Linked DNA regions of Homo sapiens: all the other regions are linked to region 2. The links are contacts of gene promoters, found by promoter capture Hi-C in blood cells and fetal thymus (Javierre and others, 2016). All regions are on one chromosome and are shown on one strand. The core of a region is centred on a gene start or on the middle of the fragment in contact, and the rest is flanking DNA. Distances in the headings are between cores, read along the strand shown. Region 1 holds the start of HSBP1 (heat shock factor binding protein 1). Region 2 holds the start of PSMD7 (proteasome 26S subunit, non-ATPase 7). Region 3 has its middle 2.1 kb from the start of C16orf46.

Region 1 (3,963 bases), core at 641-3,140, 9.5 Mb after region 2:
GTCCTACAATATACAGGGTGCCCCCTCCACCACCAACAATAAAGAACGACTTGACTCAAATGCCAGTATTGCAGCTCTTGAGAAACTCTGCTCTAAGCTCAAAAAACTCAGAGAATTCTAGAATGGTGAGAAAAAAGGAGAAGATGCAGAGTCAGGAAGTCCTGCGTCTCTTACTTCCTTAATTTGATGACCTTGTTCCAGTTTCTTAACGCCTCTGCATCTGTTTTCTCAAAAATGTAAAATTATGATAATTATATCACAGGGTCTTCTGAGGATTAACTTAAAACACTGAGATATTTTTATTTCAAGTAGTCGGGTAAAGCACTAGCCAAATACCAGTTGACAACAGCCAATTACAAAAAAGTTGTGTATACTTACACAGAAAGGAAGATCTCTCTATAGGAAAGGATGAGGTGTGAAGGGTGAGGGGCAAAGGTGTGAGTGAGGGGGAAGGGGTGGTAAAGGGAGTTGAAGTCTCATGCCTCAAGGCCAACTGGATTCCGGGTTTGTTAGAGACACTGGTGGGTCTGGCAGAGGCGTTTGAACAAGAGCAACTCCATCTCGAATAGGAGCTGGGTAAACTGAGGCTGAGAACTACTGGGCTGCATTCCCAGACAGTTAAAGGATTCTAAGTCACAGGATGGGATAGGAGGTCAGCACAAGGTACAGGTCATAAAGACCTTGCTGATAAAACAGCTTGCGGTAAAGAAGCCGGCCAAAACCCACCAAAACCAAGATGGCAATAAGAGTGAACCCTGCTTGTCTTCATTGCTACACTCCCATTACCGCTATGACAGTTTACAAATGCCATGGCAACGTCAAGAAGTTACGCTATATAGTCTAAAAAGGGGAGGCATGAATCACCCACCCCTGGTTTAGCATATAATCAAGAAATAACTATAAAAATGAGCAACCAGCAGCCCTCAGGGCTCTGTCTATGGAGTAACCATTCTTTTATTCCTTCATTTTCTTAAACTTGCTTTCACTTTACAGACTCGCCCTGAATTCTTTCTTGCATGAGATCCAAGAACCCCCTCTCTTGGGGTCTGGATCAGGACCCTTTCCCGTAACAGCTCTAACACCTTACAGCCTCTCCCTAGCTAAAGTCAAACTGGAGCTGACCCCTCACATAGCACAGTCCTTAAATGAGATGTGTGAAAGTTTCCAGAACATGCCAGGCCCGCAGTCAAGGACTCTCCTATCCCCTTGCCATGAGACCCAATCCTAAAGACCACCTGTGGGGTTGGAACTTGAGGTTCCAAATCAGCAGTGCCCACCTCCTTCAACACCCAAACCCACAGTCTAACCCTGATGCCGGAAGCCTTCCCCACTCAACAGCAGGCATTGCGTGGAGTGAAAGAAGCCAGGCATGATGGACAGCTTCCTGTCTGAATCCCCTCATATGAACCTGACGGGCACAATGAACCTACTGGGCTAAACTCCAGACGCTGGCCACCTTCATAGGGTGGAGATGACAGAACAGGACAGGAGCCATGGGGCTCCCGGGGCGGGTAGGGGTGGGTCATGTTCCTTGGCTTGGGGGCAGTTACAAGGGTACAGTGGGGCTTGTTGAAGGGCAAAAGTTCTGTAAGTTCGTCCCGACAGGCCAAAGAAACCCCAGAGCCGTCTTTCGACTGACTACAGCCTGGAAGAGAGGCCAAGACCACTCCCTGCCTCTATTGCTCCATTTCTGAGTTGGTCTCACTTTCCACCCCACTGACGGCGCGCTGCGTGAGGGGCGGGGCATAGAGGGAGGGGAGGGGCTATGCGAAAGAAGGCGGGGAGAGTGGGGTGGGGCCGCTCCTTGGAACGGAAGCGCGCGGCCTCGAGGCCCTTCCGGTGCGGGAGAAACTACTACTCCCATAATGCCCCGCGGTCCCGCGAGCTGCCAGTCTCGTCGCGAGAAGCAGCGGCCCGGGGCGACTGAGCGGACAAACGGAAGTGTAGGTTACGGTCTGAGACATCACCGCCAAGCTGGGCATCGGGGAGATGGCCGAGACTGACCCCAAGACCGTGCAGGACCTCACCTCGGTGGTAAGGGACGGCTGTGAGGGCCGGAGGCCGCGGCCTTCCCGGGCGGCGCCGGGCCAAGCCCTGCTGGACAGAGGCGCGCCCACCGCGGCCGCGCGTGGCGTCTGCCGAGGCCCCGTTTCTGGAAGCGTCTCTGGCCGAGGCTCCCGGCCACCTTGACCCCCGGGGCGCTCGGTGCGGGCCAGTCTCCCCGCGGGCGCCCCCAAGCCCGACCCCTTCCAGTAGCCCCATTCATCTGTCGCGAACGCCCTCCGGGTCCCTCCCGCCTACCTCTGACACCCTCCCCGCCCTTCAACTCCTCACACACCCCCGGGTGCCCCAGCCCGGCAGAAACAACCTAAAGACCCTGAGCTTTGAGTCGCAGCGGCCTCCCCAGCCCAGCAGTCTAATTGGACAGGTTGGAAAACGGAAGCCCAGAGAAGGAAGATCTTGCTGAAGGCCGCACAGCTGTCCAGAGGCAGAAATGGGGCTGGAACCCCGGGACCAGGGCTTGCGTCCTGATCCCAGGAAGTTGTCTCAGGATCGATGTGGACCGTGTTTGTTTGTTTCGGTTTTTCTTAGGTGCAGACACTCCTGCAGCAGATGCAAGATAAATTTCAGACCATGTCTGACCAGATCATTGGGAGAAATATCCTTTTTATCTGCAGTCGGCCTCCTGTGGGCCTTTGGAGCCTATTTGCCGGGCAGTGGTGGGGATAAATGAGTAGTTTTCAGGCTAGCTTCAGCCATTCACTTGTAGAATTTGAGCTTGGATTGTACTGTGTTTCTGAGAAGGACTGCGCCGAGAGCTAGGGGCAAAGCTGAGTTAGACTCCTGGCTCAAGGAGCATACGTCTACCAATCCTAATAGCTGGTGTGGTGGACCATGCACTGTGAACTAAGCGCTTTTGTGTGTGTCTTTTGATGCTCAGCATGACCTTATGAGTGGGTTGTAGTGTTATCATCTTTAGCAAATGAATAAATTGAGGTTTAGGGGTTCCATCACTAGTAAGGGTCAGGGCTGGAATCCGATGCGGGGTAGCCATGCCCCACAGTCCTGTACTCTTACCCACCAGCGTGTAACAGTGTCGAAAGAAAATTGGAAGACCAGTTTCCCTAAAGTCGTTGTGTTTAAGGCTGTAGTCTGCAGGGACGGGAGGAAAAAGGCTCAATGAGATGTTGGCACGCGTTGTCTTTAACTTCAGCACTTGATGATATGAGTAGTCGCATTGATGATCTGGAAAAGAATATCGCGGACCTCATGACACAGGCTGGGGTGGAAGAACTGGAAAGTGAAAACAAGATACCTGCCACGCAAAAGAGTTGAAGGTGAGGAAGGGGGCAATTTTTTTTTTCTTTTCTTTTCTTTTTTTTTTTTTTTTTTTTTTTGACACGGAGTTTTGCTCTTGTTGCCCAGGCTGGAGTGCAATGGCACGATCTCGGCTCCCTGCAACCTTTGCCCTCCTGGGTTCAAACGATTGTCCTGCCTCAGCCTCCCGAGTAGCTGGGATTACAGGCTTGTGCCACCACACCCAGCCAATTTTGTATTTTTAGTAGAGACGGGGTTTCTCCATGTTGGTCATGCTGGTCTCGAATTCTGACCTTGAGTGATTTGCCCGCCTCAGCCTCTCAAAGTGCTGGGATTACAGGTGTGAGCCGCCGTGCCCGGTCTTTTTTTTTATTTTGTCTTAAAAGAATAGAGAGAACCTGTAAGTATAATTTGTATGTAGTCAGACATTCTGTAGATCAGTTCCCAGCCATGATCCCAGCAAGCATCACTGTATTGTTTACCTGCTGTGGACTTGATGTTTTGAAATTTTTCATGCCAAACTCATTCTTTACACCGAATTTATTTTCCCAGTTTTTATTAATTAGACTTCTGTCACTATTAGTGAAGACCACTGGCTAACATTAGATAACCACTGAGTTTTTATCATTCCAGCTAATAATTAAG
Region 2 (3,909 bases), core at 1,410-3,909:
TCAAGTGATCCTCCAACCTCAGCCTTCCAAGTATCTGGGATTACAGGCACAGGCCACCATGCCCAGCTCTATATTCATTTTTATTTATCTGAATAGTGTCATTTTTCCACAATGATCATGTGTAACTAGAATAATTTTTTAAGCTCATAGTCAGTTTCACACTGCTTCAGTGAGTCAGGATTGGAGACACCCAATAAGCTTCGAAACAGCTTGCTTAGGCTTAGTACAACTGCAAAGTGAACTCAGTGTGAAATAAAATATATCACTTTCTAAAGTTTGAAATTTAGTATCTTAATAAAATTAATGCAATTCTTTTGCCTAAGACTGCTGCAAGCAGGCACACCAACCAATTAGGAACTGGGGTCACAGAAACCTGGCTTGATCCTGACCAGCAATGTGATCTTGGAAAGATCCTTCCCAATGTCTGAGCCTTATTGTCATCTTCCATTTCACTATCATAACTAATTATTCATTTATATAGTAATTACTGAATGTCTCCTATGTGCCAGGCACTTTTCAAGACAATGATAATATAAAAGTAAACTAGGGGCCAGGTGCAGTGGCTCACACCTATAATCCCAGCACTTTGGGAAGCCAAGGCAGGCAGATCACTTGAGTTCAGGAGTTCCAGATAAGCCTGGCCAACACAGTGAAACTCCATCTCTACTAAAAATAGAAAAATTAGTGGGGCATGGTGGCGCTCACCTGTAGTCCCAGCTACTTGGGAGGCTGAGGTATGAGAATCGCTTGAACCTGGGAGGTGAAGGTTGCAGTGAGCCAAGATTGTGCCACTGCATTCCGGACTGGGTGACAGAGCGAGACTGTCTCTCATTTATTTAAAAAAAAAAAAAAAAGTAAACAGGAGTTTACAAACTAAACAAGAGCTTACATTCTAATGAGAGACAAAGAATGAACAGAATAAGTAAATTCTACAAACTATTCACAAGTGGTAAAAACTATGGAGAAAACTAAAGCAGAAACACATTAGGGGGAGAAAGACAAAATTTTTTCAAAGCGTGAGAAAAAGCCCACCTCGAGAGCAACATTTGAGCAACAATTTTCATTTGTAATGAGAAAATACCGACTTCGTAAGGTTGTTACAAGCCTTGTTAACACAGCATGGGCCTCACCTGAAAGCTTGTTAGAAGCTCAGAATTTCAGGTCCCATCTCAGACCTACAGAATCAGAATCTGAATTTTAACAAGGTCCCCTGGTGATTTGTAAGCATATCAAAGTTTGAGAAGCATTAATTAAAAGGATTAAATATTTGCGTCTGAACCAGGGCTGGCATATTATAGGCACTCAATAGATTCAATAATTCTTAGTTTTCTTTCCCCATTAACATAACCCTTATATCTTTCTAGTTATAATTAAGAATGAATGGCCAGGCACAGTAGCTCACACCTGTAATCCCAGCAGTTTGGGAGGCTGAGGTGGGAGGATTGCTTGAGGCTGGGGGTTTAAGACCAGCTTGGACAACATAGTGAGACACCAACTGTACCAAAAAAAAAAATGAAAAAATAAAGATAGCATTGAGTCTCTTCAATTAATTATGAATATTAAGCATATCCTGCCATTTACTTCCTTGCAGATCTAGCAGAAAATCTGAAAATAAAGCCAAGTTGCAGACAGAAGACAAAGATAAATTCACATGCAGACAAATTCAAACTCCTGACTACATTAATGTCTCTCATTGGTGGCCAAATTTCAGTCTAATCTTTGCTAATGTTTTTCACCACCCACAAATAAGAGAGACTGAGTGTGTCCCTTGACATTTGGAGATCAGGAAGTCCACCTTAAAAAGACAAGAGGCCAAAATGTTGGGAAAATCCTCTGGTGATAAAGGGAAAGCAAAAATTGTTTAAAAACAGAACAAAATATAAGTAAATAATTCAGGTTGCTTAAGTACTGTTTTCGTTTACAGAAACAGCAACTTCAAATGAGACGATATAAACCTGTATGATTTTTCTTATAATTTGCCTCCTGCAAATAAGCTTAAGTCTTTGTCTACCTTAGTCTTCTCTTTCCTAGCTACATATCACAACATACTTCCTTACTGCCTTCCTTCCGTCTTTTCTTCAACGCTTCTGTAAATTTTGATTTCAAAAGCAACGGCACAATTGCGTTCTTCTAGCCCTAGTTACGCAGTAATATAACGACAGGTGGAAACCTGCAGGTTGCCACGTTCATTGCAAAGTGTCCACAGTAAAGATAAAGGAGAAATTCCCCCGGCAATGAAAACGAGAATGAGATAAATTACCAAATTACATTAAAAGCGTGCTCTTATGTTAGAGATTTAAAGTTCCTCTCAGAAATCGCGGAGGATTTTGACCTGAAGCAAAAGTGAACTTCTTCCGGGTGGTAGAAAAGTAAACTGTCAACTATTTACTTTGGGGGGGTGGCGGGGGGAGGGTGCTGGGAAGGAATTGAGGCGAAAAGCCTCTGCAGGTGACGGTACAGGCCAATACCAGGAGGTCAAGTCGCCGGTGTCCCTTCGGCCCTTAAGTCCAGGGAAACGCACGGCGAGGGACGAGGGGCGATTCCCGCCTTTCTCCAGCCCTTTCTCCGCCCACAAATGACGGCGGTGGCGAAGATCCGGGCCCGCCGCGCGAGGCACTCTGGGAGCGGAAGAAGGAGGCCGCGCGAGGGCTGACGAACCGGAAGAAGAGGAACTGGGCCTGAAAGGGTACCGGTGACCGCTACTGCTGCCGGTGTTTGCGTGTGGCAGGGAGCCAGGCCTGGCGAGCGGGGTGTGTCGCGATGCCGGAGCTGGCAGTGCAGAAGGTGGTGGTCCACCCCCTGGTGCTGCTCAGTGTGGTGGATCATTTCAACCGGTGAGCGAGCGCCCTATAGCTGGGCCGGCGGCGCAGCCGCTGCTGAGTCACGGGCACGCTGGAGATGGCGCGGCGGCCGCGGACGAGCTGGGGACGCAGATAGGGCGGCTGGTGACCCTTACTTGTTCACGAGTCCAGACCAGCGTCGGCTCACGATGCCGGAGTCATCCAGCCTCCCGCCCCTGCCCCAGCCGCCGCCACTTCGGGGCCTTGGCTGCCTGTTCCGTTTAGCCTGTTTGTTTTACAGAGTTCCCTTTCCGAGTTCGTTTTGCCGAAGTTCGTTTTACCGAAATCTGGATGATGCTGGGGGTCGGGAGATGCGGCTAGCTTTAGTTGGCCCTGACCCCCGCCCCCAAGCTCGTGTCTGTCACTTCGTTTTGAAGTTCGTTTTGCCGAAATCTGGATAAAGCCAGGGTGGGGCGGAGGCGGGCTAGCTTCATTTGGCTCTGACCCCCGACCCCAGGGTCGTATCTTCATTTGACTCAGTTGATTTCACTGAAATGTGAATAATGCAAAGTGACTGATGTCTGGATGATGCTTGGGTGGGGCGGAGTGGGCTAGCTCCATTTAGCCCCGCCCCAAGGCTATGTTTATCTTCGTTTGACCGAATTGGTTTCACCGAAATATGGATGATGCTGGAGTGGGGTGCAGGGTGGCTACCTTCATTTGGCCCTGACCCCGGCCCCAGGGTCGTATTTATGTTTATCCTCGTTTAACCAAGTTGATTTCACCGAAATGTGAATGATGCAAAGTGAATGATGCCTGGATGATGCCGGAGTGGGGCTAAGGGGGCTAGCTTCAATTTGGCCCTGACCCCCGCCCCCAGGGTCGTATCTATGTTTGTCTTCATTTGACCGAGTTCCTGTTATCGAAATCTGGATGATGCTCAGCACCCCGAAGGGCTTCCTGGATCAGCTGTGGTTTTAACCCATTAACATTTTTAAATGGGAATCTGATTAGACTCCGTCTCAAAAAAAAAAATGTATATATAGATGAGGTTTCAGTTTTTATTTAAAACACGAGGCCGAGCATGGTGGCTCACGCCTGTAATCCCAGCATTTTGGGAGGCTGAGAC
Region 3 (3,608 bases), core at 457-2,956, 6.8 Mb after region 2:
CACAAACTTAACAGGCCCAGAACGTCCAGGGAGGACGCGTTGTGAGCCTCAAAGAGCCCACTTACGTGACCGACAGCACCAGGCCGACGGGCACTCGCTGAACTGCTGGCCCGGAGCAGCACAGCTCTTAAGTGGGCAGTGGCATCTTTTATACAAATAAAGGAAGGTGGCCCCACGTCCCTAAAACAACAGCTTGCTGAAGAGAGATCGCAAAGCATCCCCCACTCCAGCTCGGGTCTGACTCCAAAGCCCTTCTGCTTTAGAAAGTGTGACTATTTCTGCTGTAGAAAACCGGTATCTAGGCCAGGCGCGGTGGCTCACGCCTGTAATCCCAGCACTTGGGAGGCCGAGGTGGGTGTATCACCTGAGATCAGGAGTTCGAAACTAGCCTGGTCAACATGGCGAAACCGTGTCTCTACTAAAAATACAAAAATTCGCCGGGTGTGGTGGCGGGCGCCTGTAATCTCAGCTATTTGGGAAACTGAGGCAGGAGACTGGCTCGAACCCGGGTGGCGGAGGTTGCAGTGAGCTGTGATGGCACCACTGCACTCCAGCCTGGAGAGCAAAACTCAAGTCTCAAAAAAAATTTTGGTATCTAAGTTCTCTAGCACTGTGATTGCTCCAATGAGACGGATTCAGCTATAATTCTATTCCAACTTTTTTCATACGTGTAAGCTTAGGTACCTTGTTCACATAAATAGGAAGATGCAAATAAAAGGGGTTTTATTGTATCTCAAGCTAGTAAGTATTAACCAAAAACATTTAAATGTTTTATCAGTTGACAATTTGTTTTGGTCTTCCTTCAGATCTATTGAAAACAGCTGGGCACCGTGGCTCACACCTGGAATCCCAGCTGAGGCAGGAGGCTCCCTTGAGCCCAGGAGTTGAAGGTTGCAGTAAGCTATGATTGTGTCACTGCACTCCAGCCTGGGAAACAGTGCAAGACCTTGCATATTAGAAAAAAGTTTCTGGGAAGTATACCAAAAGTCTTAACTAAGATTTGCTAAATGAATATTAATTAAATAACCTAACGGCAAGTACATGGGGAAGTTGGAGGATCTAGAACCTGACTTCCTTCACACTAACTATTCCTGCATTTAGCAGGTAAAAGCCCGATAGCATGATTGAGTGGAAACATGAAGGGACAAGGGTTTGGCTAGTTATGTTTATAAAAAGTCAACATAGGAATTGAGTCAAGATACCAGAAACTCTACTTATAGTAAGATCCCACTTTGCAAAAACGGAGAATGGAAGCGTACAGAACTGTACCTTCTCCTCAATTTTGCTGTGACTGTAAACTTCCTCTAACACATAAAATGTATTTTAAAGAAAAAAAGCCAGGAGTGGTGGCTTGCGTCTGTAATACCAGTTACTCACAGGAGAGGCTAAGGCAGGAGAATCACTTGAGACCAGCTTGGGAAGTGTCACAAGACCCCATATCTATTTTTTAAAATTAAAGGGAGATGGGTGGGTGCGGTGGCTCACACCTGTAATCCCAGCACTTTGGGAGGCTGAGGCGGGTCAATCACTTGAGGTCAGAAGTTCAAGACCAGCCCAGCCAACATGGCGAAACCCCATTTCAAAACCCTAATACAAAAATTAGCCGGGTGTGGTGATGGACGCCTGTAATCCCAGCTACTCAGGAGGCTGAGGTGGGAGAATCACCTGAACCCGTGAGGTGGAGGTTGCAGTGAGCCAAGATCGCACCATTGCACTCCAGCCTGGGCGGCAGGAAAGGCCTGTTGCAGGGAAGAAAGAGGAATTTAATCCTGGTGTAAAGAAAGGCACCTCTTTAAGTATGGGAAGGAAGGTGTGATTTGGTCTGAAAGAACACAGTAAAAAAGACACGCTTGTAGTTAGCATAATTTTTTAAACTGTGCTCTTTTTAGTAGCCCCAGAAAAACTATAGAAATTGGAAAAATTCAGCAGCTGGGCGCGGTGGCTCACGCCTGTAATCCCAGCACTTTGGGAGGCCGAGGCGGATGGATCACGAGGTCAGGAGATCGAGACCATCCTGGCTAACTCAGTGAAAGGCCGTCTCTACTAAAAATGCAAAAAATTAGCCGGGCGAGGTGGCAGGCGCCTGTAGTCCCAGCTACTCGGGAGGCTGAGGCAGGAGAATGGCGTGAACCCGGGAGGCGGAGCTTGCAGTGAGCCGAGATCGCGCCACTGCACTCCAGCCTGGGCGACAGAGCCAGACTCCATCTCAAAAAAAAAAAAAAAAAAAAAAAAAGAAAAAGAAAAGAAATTGAAAAAATTCAGAAATTCTGATTTGCTGAGGAACTGATCTGAATGGCCAGCCTCATTTTCATAGTAGTATGCCCATGCAGAGCTCCCTAGTGGTTTATTAAAACCTAAAACTGGCCAGGCGCGGTGGCTCACACCTGTAATCCCAGCACTTTGGGAGGCCGAGGCGGGTGGATCATCTGAGGTCAGGAGTTTGAGACCAGCCTGGCCAACATGTCGAAACCCCATCTTTACTAAAAATACAAAAATTAGCTGGGCATGGTCGTGGTCCGGGTGCCTGTATTCCCAGCTACCCTGGAGGCTGAGGCAGGAGAATTGCCTGAATCCGGGAGGTGGAGGGCCTGGGCAAAAGAGCGAGACTCCGTCTCAAACAAAACAAAAAACAAAACAAAACCTAAAGCTAACGACAAAACTACCTGGGAGGTGATAGCAGAAAAAAAATTTAACACTTGCAGGGTAACCTATTCAGTTTCTCAAGTTTTAGTTACTAGAAAGCTTTCTTCAAAACTTCTATTAATCTGCTCTACTAATGCCAAAACCATTCAAAAGGAATATGAGGTCATGAAAATTAAATTCCCTGGATTCAGTCAATTTGGAGGGCCATTCAAAGCCTGTATTTTTGGCAGCACTGTGACATCAATGACAGTGGATTTGGCTCTGTGTTCTAAATAGTGGAAGAGCAAGTTGCCAAATGTTCTGCTCTTTGAAAAAAGAGGGGTTGTTACAGAGCAAGTTATGTGTGTCTTTGGCAGGAAAAGGGAAAAATAAAAAACTGCCCACCTTCTTCAGAGACTATAACCACTCACGGACTTTCATACTCTAGAATGGCCACTTTTGCTTCCCACCTTTATTTAGAACATTCAACCTCCCCCTCTTCCCTGAGATTCCCATTAAAAATTTTTTTTTTTTTTTTTGAGACGGAGTCTCGCTCTGTTGCCCAGGCTGGAGTGCATGGCATCATCTTGGCTCACTGCAGGCTCCGCATGTGGGGTTCATGCCATTCTTCTGCCTCAGCCTCCCAAGTACCTGGGACTACAGGCGCCCGCCACCATGCCCGGCTAATTTTTTTGTATTTTGAGTAGAGACGGGGTTTCACCGTGTTAGCCAGGATGGTCTCGATCTCCTGACCTCGTGATCCGCCTGCCTCGGCCTCCCAAAGTGCTGGGATTACAAGCGTGAGCCACCGCGCCTGTCCCATTTAAATATTTTTATAGTAAAATTTGCTAAGGGACTGATTAAGAGTAGACCAGGAAATATGAAAATCATTACCACGACCACCCAACTATTTAACAAATTTCTTATCCTATCACCTTTCATACCTGTGAAATGATGGTAGTAATCGATGTGTCTAGAGAACTTTC

The links. The method cuts DNA at HindIII sites, captures the fragments that hold promoters and counts their contacts. A CHiCAGO score of 5 or more calls a contact.
Region 1: the fragment with the promoter of HSBP1 here is called in contact with the fragment with the promoter of PSMD7 in region 2 in 4 of 17 cell types (naive CD8 T cells, naive CD4 T cells, total CD4 T cells and 1 more); the score reaches 7.4 in naive CD8 T cells.
Region 3: a fragment that was not itself captured here is called in contact with the fragment with the promoter of PSMD7 in region 2 in 4 of 17 cell types (monocytes, naive CD8 T cells, naive CD4 T cells and 1 more); the score reaches 7.9 in monocytes.

What each region holds. Positions count from the first base shown.
Region 1 is chr16:83,806,088-83,810,050 of GRCh38, forward strand. HSBP1 (heat shock factor binding protein 1) reads left to right here and starts at 1,891. Exons shown (of 4, transcript NM_001537.4): 1 at 1,891-2,034; 2 at 2,593-2,659; 3 at 3,218-3,338. The coding sequence starts at 1,990. The coding sequence ends at 3,336. RefSeq lists an enhancer at 1,685-2,186 and silencers at 1,844-2,020, 2,038-2,327. The HindIII fragment of the contact is 4,790 bases long and covers 1-3,963 here.
Region 2 is chr16:74,294,155-74,298,063 of GRCh38, forward strand. PSMD7 (proteasome 26S subunit, non-ATPase 7) reads left to right here and starts at 2,660. Exons shown (of 7, transcript NM_002811.5): 1 at 2,660-2,834. The coding sequence starts at 2,761. RefSeq lists enhancers at 1,893-2,784, 2,575-2,884, 2,785-3,674. The HindIII fragment of the contact is 3,645 bases long and covers 1,993-3,909 here.
Region 3 is chr16:81,077,526-81,081,133 of GRCh38, forward strand. No RefSeq gene overlaps it. Among named protein-coding and RNA genes, the nearest start is that of C16orf46, 2.1 kb to the left of the region's middle. RefSeq lists enhancers at 1-136, 1-24, 137-795. The HindIII fragment of the contact is 2,067 bases long and covers 674-2,740 here.